Regions from separate parts of the Homo sapiens genome. Here all the other regions are linked to region 4. Evidence: promoter capture Hi-C in 16 types of primary human blood cells and fetal thymus (Javierre and others, 2016). All regions are on one chromosome and are shown on one strand. Each heading gives the region's core, a stretch centred on a gene start or on the middle of the fragment in contact. The rest is flanking DNA. Distances are from core to core; before and after follow the strand shown.

Evidence for each region. Contacts are between HindIII fragments. The CHiCAGO score rates a contact against its expected background, and 5 or more counts as called.
Region 1: the fragment with the promoter of AKR1B1 here is called in contact with the fragment with the promoter of CYREN in region 4 in 4 of 17 cell types (naive CD8 T cells, activated CD4 T cells, total B cells and 1 more); the score reaches 9.4 in naive CD8 T cells.
Region 2: a contact is called between a fragment that was not itself captured here and the fragment with the promoter of CYREN in region 4, in 3 of 17 cell types (total CD8 T cells, naive CD4 T cells and M1 macrophages). The highest score is 8.2, in total CD8 T cells.
Region 3: a contact is called between a fragment that was not itself captured here and the fragment with the promoter of CYREN in region 4, in 1 of 17 cell types (total CD4 T cells). The highest score is 8.2, in total CD4 T cells.

The regions. Positions count from the first base shown.
Region 1 is chr7:134,457,447-134,461,165 of GRCh38, reverse strand. It overlaps AKR1B1 (aldo-keto reductase family 1 member B), which reads left to right and starts at 2,066. Exons shown (of 10, transcript NM_001628.4): 1 at 2,066-2,169. The coding sequence starts at 2,104. RefSeq lists a silencer at 2,267-2,456. The HindIII fragment of the contact is 6,251 bases long and covers 1-3,719 here.
Region 2 is chr7:134,606,390-134,609,952 of GRCh38, reverse strand. No RefSeq gene overlaps it. Among named protein-coding and RNA genes, the nearest start is that of BPGM, 39 kb to the left of the region's middle. The HindIII fragment of the contact is 226 bases long and covers 1,549-1,774 here.
Region 3 is chr7:134,624,020-134,627,582 of GRCh38, reverse strand. The region is part of intron 1 of LOC124901750 (a long non-coding RNA gene); the gene reads left to right. Among named protein-coding and RNA genes, the nearest start is that of BPGM, 21 kb to the left of the region's middle. The HindIII fragment of the contact is 4,404 bases long and covers 1-3,563 here.
Region 4 is chr7:135,169,154-135,172,750 of GRCh38, reverse strand. CYREN (cell cycle regulator of NHEJ) reads left to right here and starts at 2,044. Exons shown (of 4, transcript NM_024033.4): 1 at 2,044-2,099. RefSeq lists an enhancer at 1,304-1,523 and a silencer at 1,904-2,513. The HindIII fragment of the contact is 3,007 bases long and covers 787-3,597 here.

The sequences.
Region 1 (3,719 bases), core at 817-3,316, 710 kb after region 4:
TGTGTGTGTGTGTGTGTGTGTGTTTTCCTTTTAAATTATTTCCTTAGGAAAAATTCCCATGATGGGAGATTACTGGTTCAGAGCATGTTAAGATTCCAATTACTAGAGTGTTTCTCAGGAGGATTCCATTGAAGGTTTTTTTCCCTTTTTCAAACAAAATTTTGATATGTATACTTATCAAAAGATGGGAGATCAAAAATCTTGAGATCAAAAATTTTGGTATGTGTACATTTTACAAAGATTACAGAGGCAATGGGGGATGTTAGGGGGCTATCACAATAGCATGTCCCAACTAGAGTGCTATTGTTGCTATAGAAATTCCACTGATACAACTTTTCATGTCTGCATGGCCCAGCCAAAATATTCTGGGTTTATTTATTTATTTTACAGACAGGGTCTTGCTATGTTGTCCAGGCTGGTCTCTAACTCCTGGGCTCAAGCAGTCATCCCACCTCAGCCTCCTGAGAAGCTGAGACTACAGGTATCACTCCAGCTTTAGACACAGTTATAACTTCATGCAATCAAGCTGTATACTCAATTATTATCAAACCAACAACAAAGCCTCTGATATTGAGTCCATGTCCCTAACAGACGACCCTTCTGTGTGTACCAACCTGGCCACTCAAGGTGTATCATTTTCACAAGAGATTAGCTCTTTGGATTTGGACCCAGGAGGTTCAATTGGCAGAGCAACCTCCAAGTCAAGAGGACTCTCATGGAGGAAGGAACTTGCTGTTTTACACAAAGCAAGTTCCCAGCTTTAGGCTCAAGTTCAAATTCTATTACTTGGGGACAAATGAATTTGCCCAATAGCAACAATTTTTACAAAAGTTACATGGAAAAATATCTGGGCTAGTCTGTTCTGTATAAATTTTTCCAGGAGGGAGCACTTTTAAAGAAAGCACCAAATGGAAAATCACCGGCATGGAGTTTAGAGAGACCTGGTGCTTGAGTCACTACCAGGCAGATGGAGTTCCCAATCTTGCATAATTAGGGGAAAGATCGGAGGGTGATGGAGCAGAAAGAGCAGTTGGGGTGAGGTAGAGTATCATGAAGAGAGGTTGTTGGAAAGAAACCAAAATTGTCTTCAAGGATCTTCAAGTGACTTTTCTTAGGCTATCTTGGAAAAATGTGTGTTTCTACCTGCCAATTAGGGTGATCAATTTACTATTTTGTACCTTCTAATTTGAAATACTGGAAGCTACAATATTAGAGTCAACTTTTTCTTCTGTGGTTTTCTGTCTGTTCACTTTTCTTCCTCTAGAGAGTTTTGATAAGTTACTGTACTGGAACTTACTGCTTTGATAGAGTCTCACTTTCCAAAGACTGATGAAATTTGTCTTACTGATTCTGAATGGACAGCCTTACTTTCCAAATTCTTCTGAGAGTTCTGGATCAAGCCCATCAAGGCTTTCTAACCTCAAGAACATCAAAGGATGCTGGCTTTTGGTGGAAGGCTTGCTGAACCACACCTAGTATGCACAGACACAGCTAACACCTAGAGTGGGGTGCAAAGAGAGATCTAGAAGGCTACAAAAAGTCTGGGCAAACCCATATTTTGTGAAGGTGCTTTGCAAAAGGATTGCAAGCCATTTTTCTGGCATGCACCTTTGTCTAAGAACAAAGTGCGGTAAACTATATGTGTAGTCAGTATGATTCACATAGATTAAGGACAAGGTATTCGTCAGATTCCCAAAGAGCATCAAACTGGGGTTGGACAACAAAGGCATTCTTCTGGGCTCTTAATGAAACCAAAACTTATTTCTAGTCTATGTATTTATGGGATGCCTGTTATTTTCGCTAAAGCATTCGCTTTCCCACCAGATACAGCAGCTGAGGAACTCCTTTCTGCCACGCGGGGCGCGGGCGAGCGTTGGGGGCGGAAAGAATCCGCTGCCACTAGGACCAGGCGGAAGAAGCATCCCCGCCGACCCTTGGGGAAGGCCGCCGCGGCACCCCCAGCGCAACCAATCAGAAGGCTCCTTCGCGCAGCGGCGCGCCAACCGCAGGCGCCCTTTCTGCCGACCTCACGGGCTATTTAAAGGTACGCGCCGCGGCCAAGGCCGCACCGTACTGGGCGGGGGTCTGGGGAGCGCAGCAGCCATGGCAAGCCGTCTCCTGCTCAACAACGGCGCCAAGATGCCCATCCTGGGGTTGGGTACCTGGAAGGTAGGTGCTCGTGGGGGCGCGGGCCCGGGGCTCGCCTCACACTCTCCGCGCGGCCTGTATTGGCGAGGGACCCCGAGTGACCCTGAGCAGCTCGCCCCGCGGACGCCCGGCGTGCTGGGAGCCACGCGCGGGCTTGCAGGGTCCCCAGCGGGCTGGGGTCGGCCTTGCAGAGACCGGGGGCCTTGGCTCCCCGGGTTGGCCCTGGGCGTCAGGGCAGCATCCTGCGAGTGGGGTTTGGGAGCAGCTCACGGGAGCCCCCGCCCTACCGCGGGCAACCCTTGATGGGCGGCCCACCAGTCCGCATTTTGGGTCCTAGCGGGCGCCCCAAGCGGCACAACGCGAGAGGGAGGCGGGGAAAGTGGGCTTCACAGACCGGTGGACCTCGGGCGCAGACAGGGACGTGGAGCCGTCGGCAAGGTGTGGGAGCGCAGACCCAGCCTCCTTTCCCTCGAGGCACCTGTAGCCCGGTTGCCTCACTTGTAAATAGTTGGTCTCAATCGTTTCGATTCTTGCCCTCCCTGAGGAATAAGCATCTCAAGCCGGTAGAGGGCAGAGAATTAGGTGGCGCGAGTTTGCCCGGACCCAGCTGTTAACAAGGCGCAGTGCGGAGCTCCTCGGCCAGGCGCCGCCTCGGGGTGCCCTGGGTCTGGAACTCGGGAGAAAAATCTGGGCACCCCGTAGCTAGTTGATAATTCAGGAGGCGCCAAGGTTAGCATTTTCCCTGTAAAACCTCAACACCACACAGCGTCCCCGAGAAGTGCCTAGCCGGATGAGAATGACAATAGGACATGAAACATCATAGGATATGAAAAATGATAATATGATATGAAAAACCAAAAATAATAGCCTGAGCCTGATTATCTGAAAATTGAGCAACAAAGGTGGTGGTATGGGAGCTGAGGCAAAACCTAGAATTTTTAACCTTCTAAGTATTGCATATTATATTCCACAGCCATAACCTGGGTTTCTCAGTTTCTGTTTTTGTTGTTTGCTTGTTTGTTTGTGACAGGGTCTCGTTGCCCAAGCTGGGGTGCAGTGGCACAATCATGGTTCATTGCAGCCTGGAACTCCTGGGCTCAAGTGATCCTCCTGCCTCAGCACTGCGGGTAGCTGGGACTACAGGCGCTCACCACCACACCTGGCTAATCTTTTTTCTTCCCCGCAGAGACAGTCTCCGCTTGTTGCTTAGGGTGATCTCCAATTCCTGGGCTCAAAGCGCTCCTCCCACCTCGCCTCCCAAAGCTACAGGTGTGAACCATCTGGCAGGCCCACGTCCCAGGTTTTTCTCTTAAAATTTGAATATGGGCCTGGGCGTTGGATATTTACACACAGACAAGGGAAGAAAACAACAGAAAGAACTGAGTGAACTGTGAGATGTTTGAAATAGGACAGAAGAGTTTACATGTACCCTAAAACCTGCTGTTGAAAATTAGTAAATATAAGGTAAGAAAAAGGTCATTTGCATCAGGGAGAGTGTTTCTTGGCCAGAATGATCAGGGTACGTGATTTGTTTCCTCCAAAAACTCCAGTGGTGTCTCTAAGGTTGTAAT
Region 2 (3,563 bases), core at 412-2,911, 560 kb after region 4:
GTAGGTGGGATTACAGGTATGCACCACCATGCCCAGCTAATTTTTTTTTTTTTTTTGAGACTGAGTCTCGCTCTACCGCCCAGGCTGGGGTGCAGTGGTGTGATCTCGGCTCACTGCAACCTCCGCCTCCTGGGTTCAAGCGATTCTCCTGCCTCAGCCTCCTGAGTAGCTGGGACTACAGGTGCAATGTCACCACGCCTGGCTAGTAGTAGAGACGTGGTTTCACCGTGTTAGCCAGGATGGTCTTGATCTCCTGACCTCGTGATCAGCCCACCTCCGCCTCCCAAAGTGCTGGGATTACAGGCGTGAGCCACTGTTCCTGGCCTAATTTTTGTATTTTTAGTAGAGATAGAATTTCACTATGTTGGCCAGGCTTGTCTCGAACTCCTGACCCCAAGTGATCCGCCCACCTTGACCTCACAAAGTTCTGGGATTATAGGCGTTAGCCACCGCGCCCGGCCAGTTTTTACGTTTTTTAATAATTGAAAAAAAAATCTAAAGAACAATAATATTTTATGATATGAAAATTATTTTAAATTAAAGCTGAATATTATAAATGAAGTTTTACTATAGCATAGCACACTTTTCATTTCCATATTGTCTATGGCTGCATTTGAGTTTCAACAGCAAAGTTGAAGAGTTGCAACAGGGACCATTTGTGAAATCTTCATCACTTCTTACTGCTGCTTAGTGAGTTGACTTGACAGTGTTTCAAGTGCCAAGCATACTTGTTTTACTTTTATTTTATTTTATCAGTGCATATCTTTCATGTCAAAACAAGAAAAGTCAACTTCAAATGTTGCACTTTTAAGTTACTGTGGCATCTGGCTTTTTTTTAATTGAATTAGATCGGAAAGCATGTGTTTAGTATGCACTGACACTATAACTATGCTAAAACAACAGAATATATGTCAACATTGCCAGACTAAGCACTCATCACAATATGTCCAATTCACAGGAAAGCAACAGGCAGAACAATTAGGAAATTTAAAATAGAATATCTTATTATAGTGGAATTTCTTCACAAGAATTACAAATGTAAATGAGGCTGCAACCAAACTTAGTTTCCAAGTGGTTCATTTGTTAGCAAGCAAGGAAACCCATTTATCAATGGTAAGCTAATTAAACTGTGTTTTTATTAGCTGAAGAAATGTGTCCGCAGAAAATAAACTTGTTCAAGACTGTGAGTCTTTTGGTAACAAAAGTTGATTGAAAAGTTGAGGACATTGGGAGCAACATCAATAGTTAAAAACAAAGTTAATTGTTCTGAGTATCTTTCCTTGTCTCTTGATGAATAGACAGATGCTACTGATACTGCTCAGCTGTTGTTTTTTACTTGAGGTATCAATGCTAAGTTTGAAGTAACTAAAGAATTAGGTTCTATGAATAGTCTGTATGGAATAACTACAAGTGAGAATAATATTTTCAAAGAAGTTGGTAAAATTTCTAATTCAGTATAATCTGAAGTAGAATCTGCTAAGATGTGCTACACGGTGGTAAAAATTTGTGTGAAGCAGACAAAGGGTTACATGGACTCATTTAAAAGCTTGTGAAAAAGTAAGATGTTAAAACCTGTAATCATTCATCAGTAGGTACTTTGCATAACATGTTTGATTCTATCATATGTTATTGAACAGGTCATGTCCAAAATGGACCTTATTCACTTTTGTGGTGTAAACATCTGCAGTTCTATGATTTTTTTGTCAAAAATAGAAGCTGAATATCCTGAATTGCCCTATCAACAAGAATTTAATGGCTTAGCAGTGGTAAAGCTTAATTGTGATTTTTTGGTTTTTGCTCAGGCTGAAACTAAAATTTTTCTAAACAAGAAGAGCTACTCTCAACCACTATTATTCTAGTCTGAATGACTTTGGAAATTTGTTTGCTAAATTTTGCTAATTTTTAGGTGAGACACAATAAGTGTTCTTATTTTTTAAAGCTATGCACTGTCATTGACAGATAAAAGGATATGATGTTTAGGATTTGTTTCAAAATAATCAGGGAAGTAAAAAAGTACAGATGAAATAATATTGTCCGTAAATGATACTAAAGCTGAGTGATATGTACACTACATTCAATACACTATTCCCTCTAACTTTCTATATGTTCAAAATTCCTATAATGAAAAATTAGGAAAAAATCAATATCCATTATTATAGCTGACAAAGAAGGAAGTCATCTTATAGATAGGCTGGCCTACAAAGATGTCCTAAGAATCAAGAGACAACCAGAATAGTCATCAAAGTGTCCATTATGGCAGCCAATCCTTCAGGCAGCTGAGAGCCTGGGAGTCGCTGCAAACTGGCTTGGAGCTAATGAGCCACATGGGAGTTAAATCAGAGTGGGGCAGGGGTGAGGCAAGCAGATGATTTAGGGTGAGAAGAAATAAAGAGTCCACAGAATAAGGAATGAAAAAAAATCTCTAGAAATCCTCTAGCTTGTGGGAATTAACAAAGGAATACTCTGGGTTGGCCAAAGACCCAGCTGACTGAAAACAGTGCAATCAAGAGCCAACTTACCCAGGAAACAGATGTGCAGGAATTCCAAATTTCCTGAAGTAGTATGGGAAAGTAGAGTAACTGACTCCCAAAATTTTTTACAAACTCAGAAAGGAGTGAAAAGAAGGTAGGCTTTGGAGAACTCCTGGATGAACATCTTGCTTACAGAAAGTTCACATGGAGAATCAATGGCAGGAAAGGTAAGAAGGGCACTGCTACATGTGGTGTGCTCATTTCAGACAATGAGCACACAGCAACATCCAGGATATTCTCCTGCCTTAGAAGGAATCACAACAAACTGTAAAATACCAGGAATGAGGAGATTTGTCCAGTGGAGATACGTTGGGGCAGTCACTGAAAGAGTGAAAATAGCTGCCTGGCTTGAGAAAGCCGCCTATTTGAAGCCATTCTCATCTAAAAGTATAGATCAGCAAGTCCAAAGTTATAATCATCACTCCATCCCCTACAATCATCGTGAGTGATTTTTTTCTTCAACACTCAAGTCAATTCCACCAACATTTTGCTGACACTGTATTGGGAAGTGTGGAAGATAAAAAATACGTATTACCGAAACGTGGACCCTAACACAGGGACACTCACCTCTAAGTGGAGAATGTAAATGGCCCTTGCAACAAACTGACCCTGAACTCCTTGACCTTCAACTTTAATCTTCTTCAGTCTTTTTCAGCCACACCCAACCATAGCCACTTCTTTGGTATTATCCTCCCTAGTACTCCTCCATCATCAAGATCTCAAACTCTGAAATTCTTCTAGACTACAAACTATTATTCTTCTGTCTTCCTGGTACCTCATAATTTTTTCTGTTTACCCTCGTCGTGAACTCCAGACCCCTTGAATGCTTCTATTCAAGCCGTCTCTTGGTTTCACTTGCCCCCTTCGTAGCCTAGACACCATAGACATGCGAAGCGACTAAAGACCACTAGGTGGCAGCAGAGCCCCAACTAGACTGTCCCCCAGCTTGGGCACCAAGTCAGATTATTAATATTTATAATGAAAGCCTGAAGTTTGAAGGGGTAAGACAATAGTGGAATTAAACAAACAATA
Region 3 (3,563 bases), core at 372-2,871, 540 kb after region 4:
CAAAAGGTGGAAGCAGCCTAAATGTCTATCAATGGATAGATGGTATATTCATACAATGTATATTCATACAATGAAATATTCAGCCACAAAAAGGAATGAATAACTGATACATGCTACAACTTGAATGAATCTCAAAAACATGCTAATTTAAAGAAGCCAGACACAAAATGCCGCATATTGTATGATTTCATTTATGTGGAATATCCAGAATCCATAGAGATAGATAGCAGGTTACTGATTTCCAGATGCTGTAGGGGAGGGAGGAATGGAAAGTGATTGCTTAGTGAATAGGGAGTTTCCTTTGTGGCTGATAAAAATGTTCTAGAAATAGATAGCGATGATGGTTGCACATCACTGTACTGAATGCCACTGAGTTGGGGTTAAATGATTAAATGGTGAATGTTGTGTTTTATGAAAGTTACCACATTAAAAAATTTCACAGATGCAAAGAAATTAGCAAACATGTAGGTAAATACAGACATTGTACATTGTATATTATGAGAATAAATGATTATAATAACATCTCATTTGTGTCGACTTAAAAATAAGAATAAAATCGTGCACACCATGAACACACAAGTTGAGGAAGGGGTAATCAGAGTTAAAGCATGTCCAAGTCCCTCTGAGGACCTACAAAAGCCATCTGCTCTCAAGTACTCTTGACTGATCCACAGTAAAAAAATGTTTTACATTTCCACACAGTGTACACACATATATTTATGACTGAAACAGGAATTTCATGAAATAACTTGCCCTAACCTTATGAGTGTTGTCCACTGATATTTTCTAATCTAATAAATTTAATTTCAAAAATGCTGATTGTGGCCATTAAGTTGATTGTATAACTCATAAGTGGATTGTAACCCATAGCTTGAAACACAGTGGTATAAAGAGCATGTGGTGGCACCCAAGTAAAGAGCTAGGCAAGAAGAGAAAATAGAGGAAAGGGTTTTGGTAGTTCAATATCCTCTCTAATGCTCTATAAGCAAGCATAGACAAATGGTAAATTGGCTGTTTTCCACAACCTTTTGAAGATATCTGTCTGCTTCAGTATTATAATCTCCATGGGGCAGAAGAATATTTCCACTAGTGCACTAGAAGCCTTTTAAACAATTCTGTATTTGAATAGTGTTCTGTGAATTGCCAAGACAAACTTTTCTTGAGTTATTCAATATGGATGCAGCTCATGGAAAGCATTTTAGATTCATACACATTGTAAACAGTCTACTTCAATTTGAAGAAATCAGATCTGATCTGTGGTCTTACACCTTTTTACCTTGGACAAGTCACTTCGTTTCTCTTGGTTTTAGTTCCCTCATTTGTAAAATTAAAGGGAACTTTTAAGTTCTCTTCCTAAAATAGAAATCTGTAATTCACTCTAAGTCTACACAGAGCCCCAACTTCACACACATACACATACACAAACAAGAATGCACTGCATTCAGGTGAAGAAAACTTAATGTAGATTTATTATTGAAATACCCACAGCTTTGCAATAATCTGTATTAAAATAAGAAGTGATGAATCAGATGATTTATTGAGCATATTTCCCACATATTTTCAGATACATAATTTTTTTATTTATAAGACATTTATTGTTTTTTAATTAGTTGCTGACTGGGTGTGGTTTAGTTTACTTATTGCAATGTCAGGAGCGTTACCAAGTTATGGAAGGGGATTATACTGGTCTGAGCCTGTACCATTAAACATGTCCATATCCCATGGTAGCTACATGGCTCATATTTAAATTCTTTTTCCAATTGTTGCCAAGTACTTCAAGTAATAATATTTGGTAAGTTATGTTTACACTTGAGATACAAACATCTGTTTTTTCCACCACAATTATTCGTTTGTGTTAGCTAGTCATTGTAACCATCCTTGCTGTAGAATCAGATGTGACTAAGAGATTCGGTGTTTTCAGTTCACCACTGTCTGGGAAGATTCCTATGAAATGAAAGAGTGGAAAACACACTCTCTGCTCCAGCCATACTGAACTATTTCCAGTTCCCTGAAAGCCTTTTGATCATTTTTCCTTATTGTCTTTTTTAAAACTTTTTTTTGTGGAAAATTTCAAGCATACATAAACAGAAGAATATAAAGGACATCACTCATCACTCAACTTGTAGTATCAATGTTCTGCCTCGCTTCTTTTATCTAAACCTCCACTCCAAACTCCTCCATCTGATTGTTATTGTTTTTACAGTTTTTAAGGTAAAATATACATACATTGAGATGCACAAGTATTAATTGAACAATTTGAGCTGTGTGTCTATACCCTCACCATATTTCCATCTCGTAAGAAAAAAAGTCCTCCCTTGGGAGCAATGCCCCAAACCCTCAAAGGCACTACTGAATTTTTTCACCTTAGATTAGCTTTACCTGTTCTAGAACTTCATATAAGTGGAAACATACAATATATACTCTGTTGTATGCAGCTTCTTTCCTCAGCATTATGTTTTATTCATGTTATTGGATGTATCAGTACAGTAATTCATTCTTTTTAATGCTAAGTGCTAATATACTACAACTTGTTTACCCATCCTGTTGTTGATGGACATTTGGGTCGTTTTCAATTTTTGACTACAGTGAATAGAGCTGCTATGAACATTCTTCTACAAGTCTTTTTGTGAACATGTATTTTCACTTACCTTGGATACTTACCTACAACTGCAATTGCTGAATCAGAAGATGTGTTTAACTTTATAAGAAACTGCCAAACTTTTTGTCAAAGTGGTTATATCATTTTATACTTCCATCAGCAATATATGTGAGTTTTAATTGTTCTGCATCCTTACCAATACTTGATACTGTCAGTCTTAGATTTTAGCTATTCTAGTGGGCATGAAGTAGAATAACATTGGGGAAATCACCACTTCAGACTCAATTTTTCCATCTACACAATGGTGCAGTAAGACTTAGAAGTCAAAGGAAATAAGTATTTGAAAGGGCTTTGTAAAGTGTAAAGCGTTGATCAATACAAAATATTCATCTTGACAGAAGCCAAGATACATGATGCTGAACATACCACGCAGTCCTCTGGGTATAAATATAGGTTGAAAAAGATTAGACTGGGAAATAAAATGTTTGTTACTTTGTAACCATTTCCTTTTTGTTATATTATTTTCTTCCTGGAAAATTATATATAGGAAGACAAATTCAGGTAGTTAATTAACTGGAACCCCCAATCATTCATTCTAATCACCGATAGGCATCCAATAAATGTTTAGTTAAGCAATGAAGTATTTAGTTACACATTTCTCATAAGTACATGAATGTTGCTTATATTGCCCTTTTAAAGAACTTATTATTTCTTTAAGGAGATATAATCAACACATCTTCAGACATAATCTGCCTTTGGTCTGTTTCTGTTCAAGCAATGCTGCAGAGGCTTTTAGCTAGCCTGCTACTTCCAATAGCTGTGATCTTTCTTGAATTTTCATAATTTAGCTAAATATTTACATATATTGACTATCAACAAAAACATAGCAACCACATAAATATATTTTATTTGAAGCAAAATATTGTACTTGTAGATTTTTTTTCTTTTTGTAATTGGTATTCAA
Region 4 (3,597 bases), core at 795-3,294:
AGCTGTAACTGTCTATGTACAGAAACCGGTCTGGGTGCTTTGGCTTACAGGTTACCTTGTGCCATACCTTTGAAACAAGGGACCTGTCCAGGCTTCCTTCTGGTGGCCAACCTACCTCTAATGCTAGCCAGTCTATTTCACACAAAGTTCTAAGTTTTCCTGGTGTCATACTAACACCGTAATCTCCTTTAAATTCTCTCTTGAAAAAAAATTTTTTTAACATAGGTCCCAGTGGGGTGGGCTTACTTTGCACCTGACCCATGTTTTTTTTTTTTTTTTTCCAGACAAAATACCACGCTCACACCACACATACCACAAGACAAAGAACAGGTAAAGAGGGCACACACACTTTTACCGTTTATACCAAACCAAAATCACGAAATTCAAAATCCGAGTACCAAAAAATTCAAGCCAAGTCAAAACCAAAACCAAAGTATCCAGCAATTCAAGTCAAGTCAAAACCAGAACAAGAGTGCCCATGCAGGCATGCTGTGGGTGATCAGGCCACGTTTCCACTCAGATGGAGTGGGGCAAGTTCCAAAGACTAGTCTTACCAAGTCAAGCCAAGTCAAAACCAGAACAAAAGTGCCAATACAGGCACACCGTGGGTGATCAGGCCACGCTTCCACTCACGTGGAGTGGGGCAAGTTCCAAAGACTAGTCTTACCAAGTCAAGCCAAGTCAAAACCAGAACAAAGATGTCAATACAGGCACACCGTGGGTGATCAGGCCATGCTTCCACTCACATGGAGTGGGGCAAGTTCCAAAAACTAGTCTTGACAAGCTTCAGATGTCTGGACTTCAAGTGCCAGTTCCTTCCCGGTGTTCAGCCAGTGTTAATCCTTCTCGGGAGCCTGCTATGCGCTGCTCTGGCAAGGCATTCCACCGGGGCCATTTCCTACCCGGGAGCGCTCTTTGGATTGCGTCAGTCAGGCTGGCCGGAGTCCTCTGCAGGGACGCTCCACAGGGCTTGTCAGTCACCTCGCTTCCTGGTCAGGGAACCAAGGACTGTAGCAGGACAAGCCACAGACAAAACCTCTCAGACACGGAGCTGTAGAAGAAAGGGCTTTATTCAGCTGGGAGCATTGGCAAGCTACTGCCTTAAAATCCGAGCTCCCCGAGTGCACAATTTCTGTCGCTTTTAAGAGCTCACAACACTAAAATTTCACATGAAAGGGTCGTGATTGATTTGAGCAAGCAAGGGGTACGTGACAGGGGCTGCATGCACCGATGGTCAGGGAGAAACAGAACAGGGCAGGGAGTTTCACAATGTTCTTCTATAGAATGTCTGGAATCTATGAATAACATCGGTTTCTAAGTCATGAGTTGATTTTTAACTACTAGGTTTAGGCCAGGCAGGCCCAGGTCCAGTTTTGGGCCTGGCGCTGGGCTGCCTGTCTTTGATTTCACTTCCTTTTTTTTTTAAAAAAAAAAAAAAAAACAGGTACTGAGTATAAAACAATATGAGAGGGTCTCTCTCTTCCCTCGCTTTAACTTTCGGAGGGCTGAAATTCTTTCTAGCCTTGGTTAATACAGCAATTCATTCCATTCTAGCTATTGTTATTTCTCTTACTATAATTTTACTATTAGTACTTACGCTATTCTATTATTTTCTTAATTTTCCACTTAATTAGGATAACAAACCGAGGCCGGGCTCCCATCCTCCTCAAGCACACGAGGGGGGCCTGGCCCAGCAGGGAGCTTCGCCTGGTTTCTGAGGGAATTCCCGGCGGGCCTTTCCAAAACATGCCCGTTCCCTTCCGCTAACTTCAGGGGCCAAGAATTGAACTTTCACCCTCCTCAAGCCGGTGGCGCTGCCTCGCTGGCGTTCCCAGCGCGCAGCCAACCGGATGCCAGCCGGCGGCATTACCACTGCCAGCATGGGGCGCCCGCGGACCTCCGACTGAGGCAGCTGCCGGGAGCCGGAAGTGTCCCGGGCGCCGGGACTGCGAGGGGGCCGGGAGTTCCCCAAGACCGGAAGTGTCCCGAGGCCGGGAGCCCGCGGGACCCCGGAGCGCGCGGGGCCGGAAGAGGCGGGCGGCCAGTGGAGGTCCGCAGAGTTTGGGCGCCAGGCGAGACGGCAGGGCTTAAAGTTCCGGGTGAGGCGTGGGTCCCACAACCGCTTGGAATTTGCCTCCCGGCTCCGCTCTGGAAGCTAAGAAGGGGCACGAGAGCCGGAGACGGGAACCTGAGAGCAGGGAAGCCAGTAGCCGGCCGGAGGAGCGCGCGGCCGCTCCAGTCGGAAGGAGCCGTTGCAGCCCTGCCCGGCGTGTGGCGGGGTCAGCGAGGCCCCTGCGGTGCTTCGCCCGCGCCTTCCGCTCCGCACTCACCCGCCCTCTGGGCCTCCCACAGGTCGGCGCCGCCAGCGGCGGGTACCGGCCCGCAGAGGGAGGGCGGGCTGTGAACTGGCAGCACATCGCGTTCCCGCGGGGCCCCCATTCTGCCCAGGCAGGGAGCGGCTGGGATGGGACTGAGGTCGGTCCGCGAGCGCGGTGCCCCAGAGACCCGGCTTCTGGAAGTTGCCGCGGCCTGCTCTTGGGGCCCAGAAGTAGGGCGGGGAGGCGCGGGGTCTGGAGTCTGCAGGACCTGGCTGCGAATCCAACCAGCTGATTTCAAACTTTTCTGTGATCTTCTGCAAGTTAACTAAGTCTCAGTTCCTCGTTTGCGAAATGTACTTAATAGGCACCCCAGGGTGAACTAAATTTGTCCGCACAGACTGCAGCATTGCGCTTGGGAGGCGCCTTAGGGGGTAGGAGTCACTAATATCACTGAGTTTTGACAGAAATGAAGGTGCATTGGCAAAGGTGTGCCCCATGGCCGGGCAGGTTAGGAGGAGGGCCTGGTAATATTTTTTCTTAAATTGTAAACAGCCATCTGGATGAGCAATGCATTATCAAATTATGATTCAGAGAGGACTATCGCTGACTACTCTTTTTTTTGGGCAAACCTCCGCTTCAGGAGCTTCTGGCTTGATTCCTAAGTGGAAGGTAGAGACCTAGGCCCTCTGAGTCACAACTCCATCTCTCTGGGTGAGGACTGAGCTCCAGGACTGCTGAGTGGAGGCAGAACAATTGGGATAGGGAAAAGAGAGGCCAAACTAGATCAGAGGCTGGCGTGGGCTTCAGAATCTACAGACTGGCACAGTTAATGCCTCCGGGCCCCTATTGCTGCTTCAAGTTTGACCAATCAGAAGTATCTTTAGCTTAAGGGCGGCGTGTTGGCCAATGAGACTTTATTGTGAAATAAAATGCCCTCAGTTTCATTTAACTGAGCCACCATAGAAGAGTAGAGAAATCGAGTTGGCCAGATGAGGGAGAGGCCATTAAGAGGTATTTTAGGGATTGAATGGGCTGGGCACCCAGAGGACAGTGGCATTTGGGGTGGTAATGAGAAGGAACATTAGGGGCCTCCGCCTCCTTCCGTTCCTCCTGTGCTGAGTCAGTCAGCACAGAGGCTGCAGGAGGTATCTCTGGTTGGCTTTGGCTGCCTGTAGGGGGCACCAGCTTTGGGGAGGTCAGAGGGCTCTCTCCTGAGCTGCTGTCCTGCCCACAATCACACCTGCCTGATGCCTGTGAATGGCCGTCTGAGTCTCTTGGG